Linked DNA regions of Homo sapiens: all the other regions are linked to region 1. Evidence: promoter capture Hi-C in 16 types of primary human blood cells and fetal thymus (Javierre and others, 2016). All regions are on one chromosome and are shown on one strand. Each heading gives the region's core, a stretch centred on a gene start or on the middle of the fragment in contact. The rest is flanking DNA. Distances are from core to core; before and after follow the strand shown. Region 1 holds the start of ANKRD52 (ankyrin repeat domain 52). Region 2 has its middle 3.1 kb from the start of GLS2. Region 3 overlaps ERBB3 (erb-b2 receptor tyrosine kinase 3). Region 4 holds the start of ZC3H10 (zinc finger CCCH-type containing 10).

What was found. The method cuts DNA at HindIII sites, captures the fragments that hold promoters and counts their contacts. A CHiCAGO score of 5 or more calls a contact.
Region 2: a fragment that was not itself captured here is called in contact with the fragment with the promoter of ANKRD52 in region 1 in 2 of 17 cell types (naive B cells and M1 macrophages); the score reaches 7.6 in naive B cells.
Region 3: a contact is called between a fragment that was not itself captured here and the fragment with the promoter of ANKRD52 in region 1, in 1 of 17 cell types (activated CD4 T cells). The highest score is 5.2, in activated CD4 T cells.
Region 4: a contact is called between a fragment that was not itself captured here and the fragment with the promoter of ANKRD52 in region 1, in 11 of 17 cell types (naive CD4 T cells, naive CD8 T cells, activated CD4 T cells and 8 more). The highest score is 11.5, in naive CD4 T cells.

Annotation. Positions count from the first base shown.
Region 1 is chr12:56,257,125-56,259,636 of GRCh38, forward strand. It overlaps ANKRD52 (ankyrin repeat domain 52), which reads right to left and starts at 1,260. Exons shown (of 28, transcript NM_173595.4): 1 at 1,119-1,260; 2 at 704-787; 3 at 159-237. The coding sequence starts at 1,145. RefSeq lists enhancers at 1-262, 569-618, 699-748 and silencers at 809-878, 899-1,448, 1,459-1,518. The HindIII fragment of the contact is 14,479 bases long and covers 1-2,512 here.
Region 2 is chr12:56,489,989-56,492,500 of GRCh38, forward strand. No RefSeq gene overlaps it. Among named protein-coding and RNA genes, the nearest start is that of GLS2, 3.1 kb to the left of the region's middle. The HindIII fragment of the contact is 1,138 bases long and covers 686-1,823 here.
Region 3 is chr12:56,101,683-56,104,194 of GRCh38, forward strand. ERBB3 (erb-b2 receptor tyrosine kinase 3) reads left to right here. Exons shown (of 28, transcript NM_001982.4): 28 at 1-1,823. The coding sequence ends at 373. LOC105369782 (a long non-coding RNA gene) reads right to left here. Exons shown (of 2, transcript XR_944995.4): 2 at 2,132-2,236. Among named protein-coding and RNA genes, the nearest start is that of PA2G4, 1.6 kb to the right of the region's middle. The HindIII fragment of the contact is 842 bases long and covers 830-1,671 here.
Region 4 is chr12:56,118,083-56,120,594 of GRCh38, forward strand. It overlaps ZC3H10 (zinc finger CCCH-type containing 10), which reads left to right and starts at 184. Exons shown (of 3, transcript NM_032786.3): 1 at 184-236; 2 at 1,006-1,069; 3 at 2,429-2,512. The coding sequence starts at 2,481. The HindIII fragment of the contact is 696 bases long and covers 909-1,604 here.

The sequences.
Region 1 (2,512 bases), core at 10-2,509:
AGGAGGTATGAAGGAAGCCAGTAATCAGGCCAGGAAATCTGAATGGAGCTGGAGCCTCGCCTGGACCAAGCCGGGGAGAGCAATCCTTGAATATCAAAAAAGACTCCTCCCCTCCCTTCGCTCCCTATGTGCCACACCTTCCAGCTCCCCACTTTCACCTGACATCAGTAGCAACTGGAGGATGGGGACATCGCCTACGTAGGCAGCAGCATGCAATGGAGTTCGCCTCTCTTGGTCCTGGGAAGGCAAAAAAGAGCAGGGAGTATGGGCGCGGGGTAAGGGGGCTATCAAGGACCCCAGCCCAAGTCTCAGAGCTCCAGGCCCTTCCCCACAACCTCTTCCCATAGTTTCTGCAGCGTCCTAAGTCCCGGTATTGGGAGTCAAAGGCAAGCACCTAGGGAGGGTGGAGTCAGGGCCAATGGGCTGAGAAGCCGGCTCCTTTTTCCAGGAGGGGTGGGGGCGCTGCAGACTCCGGAGGTTGAGAAGAGAACAACGTTCCTGGGCATTCCCAGCCCAAGTGATCTGGGCTTCAAGCCTGACCTGCTCTCCATCCCCAAATGCAGAGTAGGCTTTCACTCCAGGATGGAAAGAACTGCGGCCTCATCTGAGCAGAGGAGACACGGAGCCGCCCCACCGGTGGGGAGGGGTCCAGAACACGGGAGCCAGGATTCCGGTCTCGCCATCCTCCCTGCTCCCAACTCACCAGCACATTGATGTTCTCCTTCTGCGAGAGTAGGGAACGCACTTCCTCCACATCTCGGCTAAAGATGGCCTGGACCAGGGGCGGCTGCAGAGAGAACCGGCATTCTGAGAGCGGGCTGGAGCCGGAGCGGAACCGGTGTGGGGGTGGGGGTGGGGGAGCACCTAGGTTTGAGTGGGGGGCGTCCGTGGAGGGGCTCCACTCTAGGGATTCTGGCTGGAGCGAGCTCCCGCGGTGCCTCCGCCGGTTGCCAGGTCCCCAAGGACACCGGCTCGGTTGAGGGGAGCGCGGCATGGGGCGGGGCGGGAGCTGCGGGAGCCCCGGGCTCAGGCCCAGCCTAGGCCGCACATCCCCGGGCTCGCGTGACGGCAGCGCCGAGCCCTGGAAGGAGGAAGCGGGAAAGGGCAGGAGGGCTGACCTGGTCCGTGATGCTGAGGATCCCCATGGCTCGGCCCGGGCTCCGTCCGCATCGAGCTCCCGGCGGCGGCGGCGGCGGCTCCACCGGGGACACGGAGCGGCCCAGGCGGCGGCTGCGGTGGCGGCTGCAGGGAGAGCGCGGCCCCGCCTACCGGGGGGCGGGCGAGTTGGAGGCCGCAGCGCTCCCTGGCGGCCGTCCTGGTCCCGGCGCTCCCCGCGCAAACGGACCCCGGCCGCAGCGCCCTCCGCCCCACCCTGGCGGCCCCAGCAGCCCCTGCACCCCCGAACTCGCGCGCCGGCTCCCCGGCTCACGCAGCTGGCCGCGCTGTGCTCTCCGCTCCAGTCTGGCGGCCCAAGGGGTTCCCCACAAGACCCTAGCGGAAACCTGGGCCTTAGTCCCGCGGTGCTTCCCAAACTGAGGACCGAACGGCTGGCCAGATCTTACCCAGCCCACAATGCTCCCGCCCGAGCTAACTCCTCCCGTCAGCGATTCCACACCCCGAAATCCCCCACAGACTAGGAGGAACTGGCGGGTGGAGAACTGGGAATTATGTATGGCAATAGCCCCAGAGGGAGGGAAAGCGTGTATCTCCACTGGCGGAGGCGTGAGTTCGGTAGAGAAGAAATAGCAAAAGTGCTCAAACTGCAGAGAAACCCCAAGGAGGATTCTACTGCAGAAAACACCCACAAAGAGGCCATGACAACTGGCAGCTGGAAAAGGCCGCCAAGACCAACAGAAGGGGCATTTTCCAACTCCTTACTGATTCCATTGCAAGGTTAAAGTGGAAAACACTCAACAATTTCTCCCCAGAACAGCCTGTGGCGCTTCCCCTCCTCCAATGGAGAGGCCAGAGAGCCGTCAATTAGAGAAGAAATGAATGGAGGTCATCTCAACCCAGAAACGGAAAAAGGAGGAAGACGAAAAGTGGAGATTGAAAAATTGATACAATTTATAAAAGGTGATCCAGGGTCCTGTTCAGAGTTTCACAACTCAATACACATTGAAGAGAACACGAAATGGACGAAGTGCAGCATGCTGGCGTCCTGTCAAGGCTTTATATATAAAAATCCTCCCTTGAGGGGAGAGGAAAAAAATTAAAAAATAAAAATACATTTTATTTTATTTTTTGAGATGGAGTTTCACTCTCGTCCCCCAGGCTGGAGTGCAGTGGCACGATCTCGGCTCACTGCAACCTCCGCCTCCCGGGTTCAGTGATTATCCTGTCTCAGACTACCAAGTAGCTGAGACTACAGGCGCCCGCCACCCTGCCCGGCTAATTTTTTATTTTAGTAGAGACGGGGGTTTCACCATGTTGGTCAGGCTGGTCTCGAACTCCTGACCTCAGGTGATCCACCTGCCACGGCATCCCAAAGAGCTGGGATTACCGGCGTGAG
Region 2 (2,512 bases), core at 5-2,504, 230 kb after region 1:
AAAGGCAGTTCTCCTTTGCCTTGGTTAGGGTTGGAGGGCTTATTTGGCTTAAAACCAGATGGAGTGACATTTGTTTTTGCTTGTTTTCGCCTTCTGTAGTCATTCTGTGTCTGCTGTATCTGTTCTCCTGTCCGTGGAAAGCCGTCTAATTCTGGGAGGGCTTGCTGCTTTATGCTTGGCTTTGCCCAAGAGGCAGAGTTCTGGGTCTCAATACTTAACGTAAACTCAATCCTGCATTAGTTTTTTTCATACGTAACAGACGAATCTTATCCTTGTTTCATAGAAATATGATTTATCTGAAACGTTTTGATCTATTCAAGAGAAAAATACCATCTGTTAGGGAATTTCTAAACATTACCCAGAAGTAATTTGCTTCCTTTTTTTCCTATTTCTGCCTCTTTGAATTAGCTTTATACTCTAATGAGTTCCTTACTCTCTTTCTCCCAGCACTCTTCCACTAATAGGAACTGGTTGGGTAGTGAAGAAGATCTATGCATGGAAGCAGAGGTTCTTTGCTTAGAGAACTAGCTCCAGCTGCACTTGGACCTTTGGACTAACTGTCTCCAATACAATATTGCTGTCTTTGCATGAGGATGGAGCATGAACTGGTGACTTGGGAGGCCAATGGTACTGTGTAAAGTATAAGATGCTGGAGAAGAACAAGTTTGTTGTCCCAGGTGGTTAAAGCTTGGCAGGGTCAGGTCCTCTTTTTGTTTCTAATTTGAAAAATACTCATCATCTAGTTTAATTTGTGCAAAACTATTAGCCAACTATGACAAGGGCAGCTAGAAATGAAGATTTTCATAACTGAAAGAAAGTTCTTTGTGTCTCTAACAGTGGGCTTTTAGGTTAGTCCATGGCTGTGCCAGAGTTTTGTGGTATGTGAGAGAGGATTAGACTTAATGATTTTGAATCCTTAATAAAAGCTAAATCCGGGCCGGGCGCGGTGGCTCATGCCTGTAATCCCAGCTGCTCAGGAGGCTGAGGCAGGAGAATTGCTTGAATCTGGGAGGCGGAGGTTGCGGTGAGCTGAGATCACGCCATTGCACTCCAGCCCGGGCAACAAGAGCAAAACTCCGTCTCAAACAAAAAAAAAAAAAGAAAAGAAAGAAAGAAGGAAAAGCTAATCCTCTGTGATAGGAAATTGATGTTTGGAGTTTGTTTATTTCTTATGATTTAGAGACTCATTTGTTCTACTCTATTTTGTGTGTGTGTGTGTGTGTGTGTGTGTGTGTGTGTGTGATGGAGTCTCGCTCTGTCGTCCATGCTGGAGTGCAATGGTGTGATCTTGGCTCACTGCAACATCCGCCTCCCGGGTTCAAGCAATTCTCCTGCCTCAGCCTTCCGAATAGCTGGGATTACAGGCACCCGCCAATATGCTCGGCTAATTTTCGTATTTTTAGTAGTGACGGAGTTTCACTATGTTGGCCAGGCTGGTCTCGAACTCCTGACCCCTTGATTTGCCCGCCTCAGCCTCTCAAAGTGCTAGGATTGCAGGTGTGAGCCACCGCACCTGGCCTGTTCTACTCTTTAGACTGTAGCTAGGATGTTAATTGGTCCAAGTAAAAGATTAGTTCATTTTTTTATTAATCTTTGTTAATGATACTATTGTTACAAACTCCTTTCTGCCTTAGTTTCTCCATTTGTAAAAGATAAACTTGTATTTTACTGGGTAAAATGTAAGTACTTGGGGCTCTGACATAATGAGCTTCCATTCACTCAATTAATATTTATTTGTTGGCATTCAGTGTGCCAGGTCCAGTGCTGGAAAATCCAGAAATTTAAAAATTTAATAAACCAGTTTCTACTGGGAGAAATGAGAAAGCTTATGTTTAAAATTCCTAATGAAAAATGCTGTGATGTAGAGACATGCAGAAGAAAGTATAAAGGGGACATCTAACTAAGCTGGGGGTGAAGGGCCACTGGGATAGAAGAGGAATGGTGACTGACAGGAGCTGGTTTTTAAAGCACGAGAGGTGTTTCAGACAGAGGGCTCTACAAGAATAAACATAGCCTGAGAGGAACATTTGAGGGACTCTACCTCTAGTTTGGTTGGAATGAAACGTGGGTATAAGAATGTGGACCAGCCGGGCGTGGTGGCTTATGCCTGTAATCCCAGCACTTTGGGAGACTGAGGTGGGCAGATCACAAGGTCAGGAGTTCGAGACCAGCCTGACCAACACGGTGAAACCCCATCTCTACTGAAAATACAAAAATTAGCCAGGCGTGGTGGCATGCACCTGTAATCTCAGCTACTCAGGAGGCTGAGGCAGGAGAATCAGTTGAACCTGGGAGGCAGAGGTTGCAGTGAGCCAAGATCGCGCCACTGCACTCCAGCCTGGGTGACAGCGAGACTCCATCTCAAAAAAAAAAAAAAAAAAAAAAAAAAGAATGGGGACCAATGAAACTGAGGATGTAGGTATGGGATGCATGTTTTAACTTGATGCTAGACTTTCATGGAGTAAATGAAATTTAATAAAAGTTTAAGCGTGTCTGTGATCTACTCCAGTGT
Region 3 (2,512 bases), core at 1-2,500, 160 kb before region 1:
GCTGGGTTATGAGTACATGGATGTGGGGTCAGACCTCAGTGCCTCTCTGGGCAGCACACAGAGTTGCCCACTCCACCCTGTACCCATCATGCCCACTGCAGGCACAACTCCAGATGAAGACTATGAATATATGAATCGGCAACGAGATGGAGGTGGTCCTGGGGGTGATTATGCAGCCATGGGGGCCTGCCCAGCATCTGAGCAAGGGTATGAAGAGATGAGAGCTTTTCAGGGGCCTGGACATCAGGCCCCCCATGTCCATTATGCCCGCCTAAAAACTCTACGTAGCTTAGAGGCTACAGACTCTGCCTTTGATAACCCTGATTACTGGCATAGCAGGCTTTTCCCCAAGGCTAATGCCCAGAGAACGTAACTCCTGCTCCCTGTGGCACTCAGGGAGCATTTAATGGCAGCTAGTGCCTTTAGAGGGTACCGTCTTCTCCCTATTCCCTCTCTCTCCCAGGTCCCAGCCCCTTTTCCCCAGTCCCAGACAATTCCATTCAATCTTTGGAGGCTTTTAAACATTTTGACACAAAATTCTTATGGTATGTAGCCAGCTGTGCACTTTCTTCTCTTTCCCAACCCCAGGAAAGGTTTTCCTTATTTTGTGTGCTTTCCCAGTCCCATTCCTCAGCTTCTTCACAGGCACTCCTGGAGATATGAAGGATTACTCTCCATATCCCTTCCTCTCAGGCTCTTGACTACTTGGAACTAGGCTCTTATGTGTGCCTTTGTTTCCCATCAGACTGTCAAGAAGAGGAAAGGGAGGAAACCTAGCAGAGGAAAGTGTAATTTTGGTTTATGACTCTTAACCCCCTAGAAAGACAGAAGCTTAAAATCTGTGAAGAAAGAGGTTAGGAGTAGATATTGATTACTATCATAATTCAGCACTTAACTATGAGCCAGGCATCATACTAAACTTCACCTACATTATCTCACTTAGTCCTTTATCATCCTTAAAACAATTCTGTGACATACATATTATCTCATTTTACACAAAGGGAAGTCGGGCATGGTGGCTCATGCCTGTAATCTCAGCACTTTGGGAGGCTGAGGCAGAAGGATTACCTGAGGCAAGGAGTTTGAGACCAGCTTAGCCAACATAGTAAGACCCCCATCTCTTTAAAAAAAAAAAAAAAAAAAAAAAAAAAACTTTAGAACTGGGTGCAGTGGCTCATGCCTGTAATCCCAGCCAGCACTTTGGGAGGCTGAGATGGGAAGATCACTTGAGCCCAGAATTAGAGATAAGCCTATGGAAACATAGCAAGACACTGTCTCTACAGGGGAAAAAAAAAAAAGAAACTGAGCCTTAAAGAGATGAAATAAATTAAGCAGTAGATCCAGGATGCAAAATCCTCCCAATTCCTGTGCATGTGCTCTTATTGTAAGGTGCCAAGAAAAACTGATTTAAGTTACAGCCCTTGTTTAAGGGGCACTGTTTCTTGTTTTTGCACTGAATCAAGTCTAACCCCAACAGCCACATCCTCCTATACCTAGACATCTCATCTCAGGAAGTGGTGGTGGGGGTAGTCAGAAGGAAAAATAACTGGACATCTTTGTGTAAACCATAATCCACATGTGCCGTAAATGATCTTCACTCCTTATCCGAGGGCAAATTCACAAGGATCCCCAAGATCCACTTTTAGAAGCCATTCTCATCCAGCAGTGAGAAGCTTCCAGGTAGGACAGAAAAAAGATCCAGCTTCAGCTGCACACCTCTGTCCCCTTGGATGGGGAACTAAGGGAAAACGTCTGTTGTATCACTGAAGTTTTTTGTTTTGTTTTTATACGTGTCTGAATAAAAATGCCAAAGTTTTTTTTCAGCTTCCTGTCTGTCAAATGAAGACATTTCGTATGTTAGATAAGAGATCTGCTCCTCAGCAGTGGATACTCACCTTTCTGTGTTCTGACAGTGCTACTCTGTCCCATGCAGCTTTCTCTAGTCCTACTATTACTTCTATTTCTTTAGAACAACCATAGCGCATAGTCCTTTTCATTAAGGGTTTTAGTAGGAATCTACAAGGCAACCAATTGGGAATAACAAAAAGAACCTACGTGCTTTAGGACTTATAAAAAGCCCTATAAGCCCTCCTTCAGAGGCCAAACACTGAAACCTCCAGATGCTTCTGAATTCATTATCTTAGAAAAGTCATCAAATCTTTTTATTTTTTCACGGTAAGAACTCTCAACAAACATGTCTTTCTGAACACTTCCCTTAGGTGCTCCATCCAGGTGCCTGTTATTGGAACAATAAAGTCATGTTACTTCATTAGGAGTCCGGCCTCTAGATTGCGAGGCCTTTAAATGGATGATCCCTCCGGTGTCTGGCTGCCCAGTTAGCCCCCGTTACCAGCACCCTTGGTCTTCTTCCACCTGTCTGCCCCTCCCTGTTCTCCCAGCTTCGGAGGACGACTGGACCGGCTGGGCGGGTTTCGCCAGCCGACCCAGGGATCCGAAGAAGGGCGCACCCAGCCTCCCCGACCTAGGTGTAGACACTGCCCACCCGCTGCGG
Region 4 (2,512 bases), core at 7-2,506, 140 kb before region 1:
ACCGCTTAGACCATGTCGTGCCTTTGGGTTGGGTTGCCATAGTGACACGCAAAGCGTGCTGGGAACGCCCTGCGGCATGTCGCACGCGTACTTCATACACCATAGAGTATGGTTCCGGGTCTGCTGGCTAGAGCGTCACTTCTTCCGCAGGAAGCGGAAGAGCGATCGGGTAGGCGGCTCTTTGTCGAAGCTAGAGGACCGGCAGGCGGCAGCAGCAACTACGGCGGCGGCGGCAGGTGAGGGAGGCGGGAGACTTAGGTGGAGGCCGCGCCCGGAGGGGAGGAGTCGGGGCCGGCCCAGCGGCTGGGCTCGGCCAGGCCACAGAAGGCCCCCCAGAACCGAGCTGGCTCGTCCTCACACCCCAGGGCAGTGCCCCTTTTCTGAGTGACCCCGCATCGCGAGCAAACGCCAGCTTCGTGACGTCACAACCCTGCCCATCCCCTCAGCTTGATGACACCTGGAGCTCCAGCTCCCCGCTTCACTTCGCGCGCCCTTAGTGTCCCATTCACGTAGCCCACGGCTGAGCGCCGGCGGCACTGCACGGAACCTGCCAAGCTAGAAGACTTGCTGCGGGAAAACTCCTAGGACTTCTTTCGCAAACTCTAGGGTGTTGGGAAGCGTCACAATCACTGCCTTCAAGTCTAATCGGCCATCCCAATGCACTGTCAGACGCTGCCTTTTTGAGGTTCCTCACTAGCCATTACTAACTCCAGCCCTTGGCGGTGCTCTGACCCTCACATCCTCTTTCATCTTGAGGCAGGGCGCCCCGCACTCTTTGTTCACTCAGGGCTGGTTTTCCAACCCCTCCTCCCAGTCCCTCCGAATTAGTTTTACTCTTCTTACTGGCAACTTCTCCCTTGGACAGGTGAAGTTCAGTTTGAACCCTGAGGAAATCCTCACGTTCTCGAAGCTTTGCCGTTTTGTCAGATTTCTTGTGACAACCACCCCATAGTCCTCCACTCTTACTCCTTCTTCCACCCAAGTCTCTGTTTTTTTCCTGCTCAGAACCCAGCAGTGATGTGGAGGTGGAGACCCACAGGAGCCCCGGACTTCACCTGAGCTACCTCAGGTATCAATTCTGGGAGAGTGGGGTGGGGAGGAGCATCATAACTAATTATCTGCTGCTGGTGCGACTTGCAACGTGAGCCAGGCTTGGATAGATGGCATTTGTACTTCACCTGGTCATTCCCCTTTACTAAAAGTTTGTATCTTCTTTTACCACTTCTTTCCTTGATTGCTTCTATTATTCTGGGACTACCTCTCTTTAGAGGAGGAGGACCCTCTTACAGATTCTCTTGTAACTCTGGCCTCTGGTTTGGTTAGTTCATTTTAGGGAGATCTGAAGGCAAAGTCACAGTAGTGGGGTGGGGGTAGGTCAAGGCCAAAGGAATTAGGAAAGATTCCCTTATTCTCAAAGGGAACAATATGAAGTTTTCCTATTTCAGCAGCAGGGGGAGCCTGAACACCGCATAGGAAAGGCTTGGGAGGTCAGACACGTGGTAGCAGGGACTCCAGGTCTTACTGGGGGTGGAGAGAGGGGAGGGCTAGAACCAGGGCAGTGGACTGACATTCCAAAGCTCTCTTGGGAAATAGGAGACTTAAAAAGCTTTTATGGAGTCTATAAATAAAGAGGATCTTTCTGGGTTGAGGAATGGTGTGGTTGGATGTCAGTGGGATCTTCACATAGGGGAGTAGGAAGGGGGTGGGGAATGGGGAAAGGTCACTTGTTCCTGTGAAATTAACTCCTTCCCACTTGACCTTATCACAAATGGTTTGTCCTAGGAAATCTAGAAGTGGAGACTCTAACTTAGAACTCCTATCCTGAAATAGAAGGGGCTTACCTCTCTGCCGTTGACAGTGATGATGGCTGGGAGGGAATACTAAAATATGACAGGTTTTGAGACTCCCCTCAAGCTGGTGACACCAGTCTCTTCACCCAGGATTTCTTGGCTTCTAGAGATTTGATGTGTACAGAGCCCTTACCTGAGGAAAAGGAAAGGGGGTTAAGGAAGTTTTGTTACCAGTGTCCCATCTTCTACAGCCCTAGTAGCTCAGTAGCCCATCTTGGGCACTATTCCCAGTTTCCTTCCAGACTATTCAGATACTGACTGCAGTTTTAATTTCACTTCCACAACTTTAATAAGGTCAGCTCAAAAGGAAAGATGAATTCCAACACTATTTTTTCCCTGCTCCGTCCTGGGCCTATCCCTCCTCCGTTAGCCAGGCAAGTGTGAATCATTCTGACCCAGACCAGGTGCACAAAACCCTGGGAGGGGCTTTTGATGAGTCAGACATTTCAGCCAGAATTCTTATCCCTTAGATTCTCCATCTCTAAAGCCATTGCCCCTCTGGGCCACCTGCTTTATAGTCAGGAAGAGTGGGATCTCCCTGGAGGACTCCTGTTTGATACAGTTCTCCTCTTTTGTAGTGGTCACCAAGAGTGGCAAGATAAAGAAAACCCTGAGTTGGGCGGGACCAGGATGCCTGACCGGGACAGCTATGCCAACGGTAC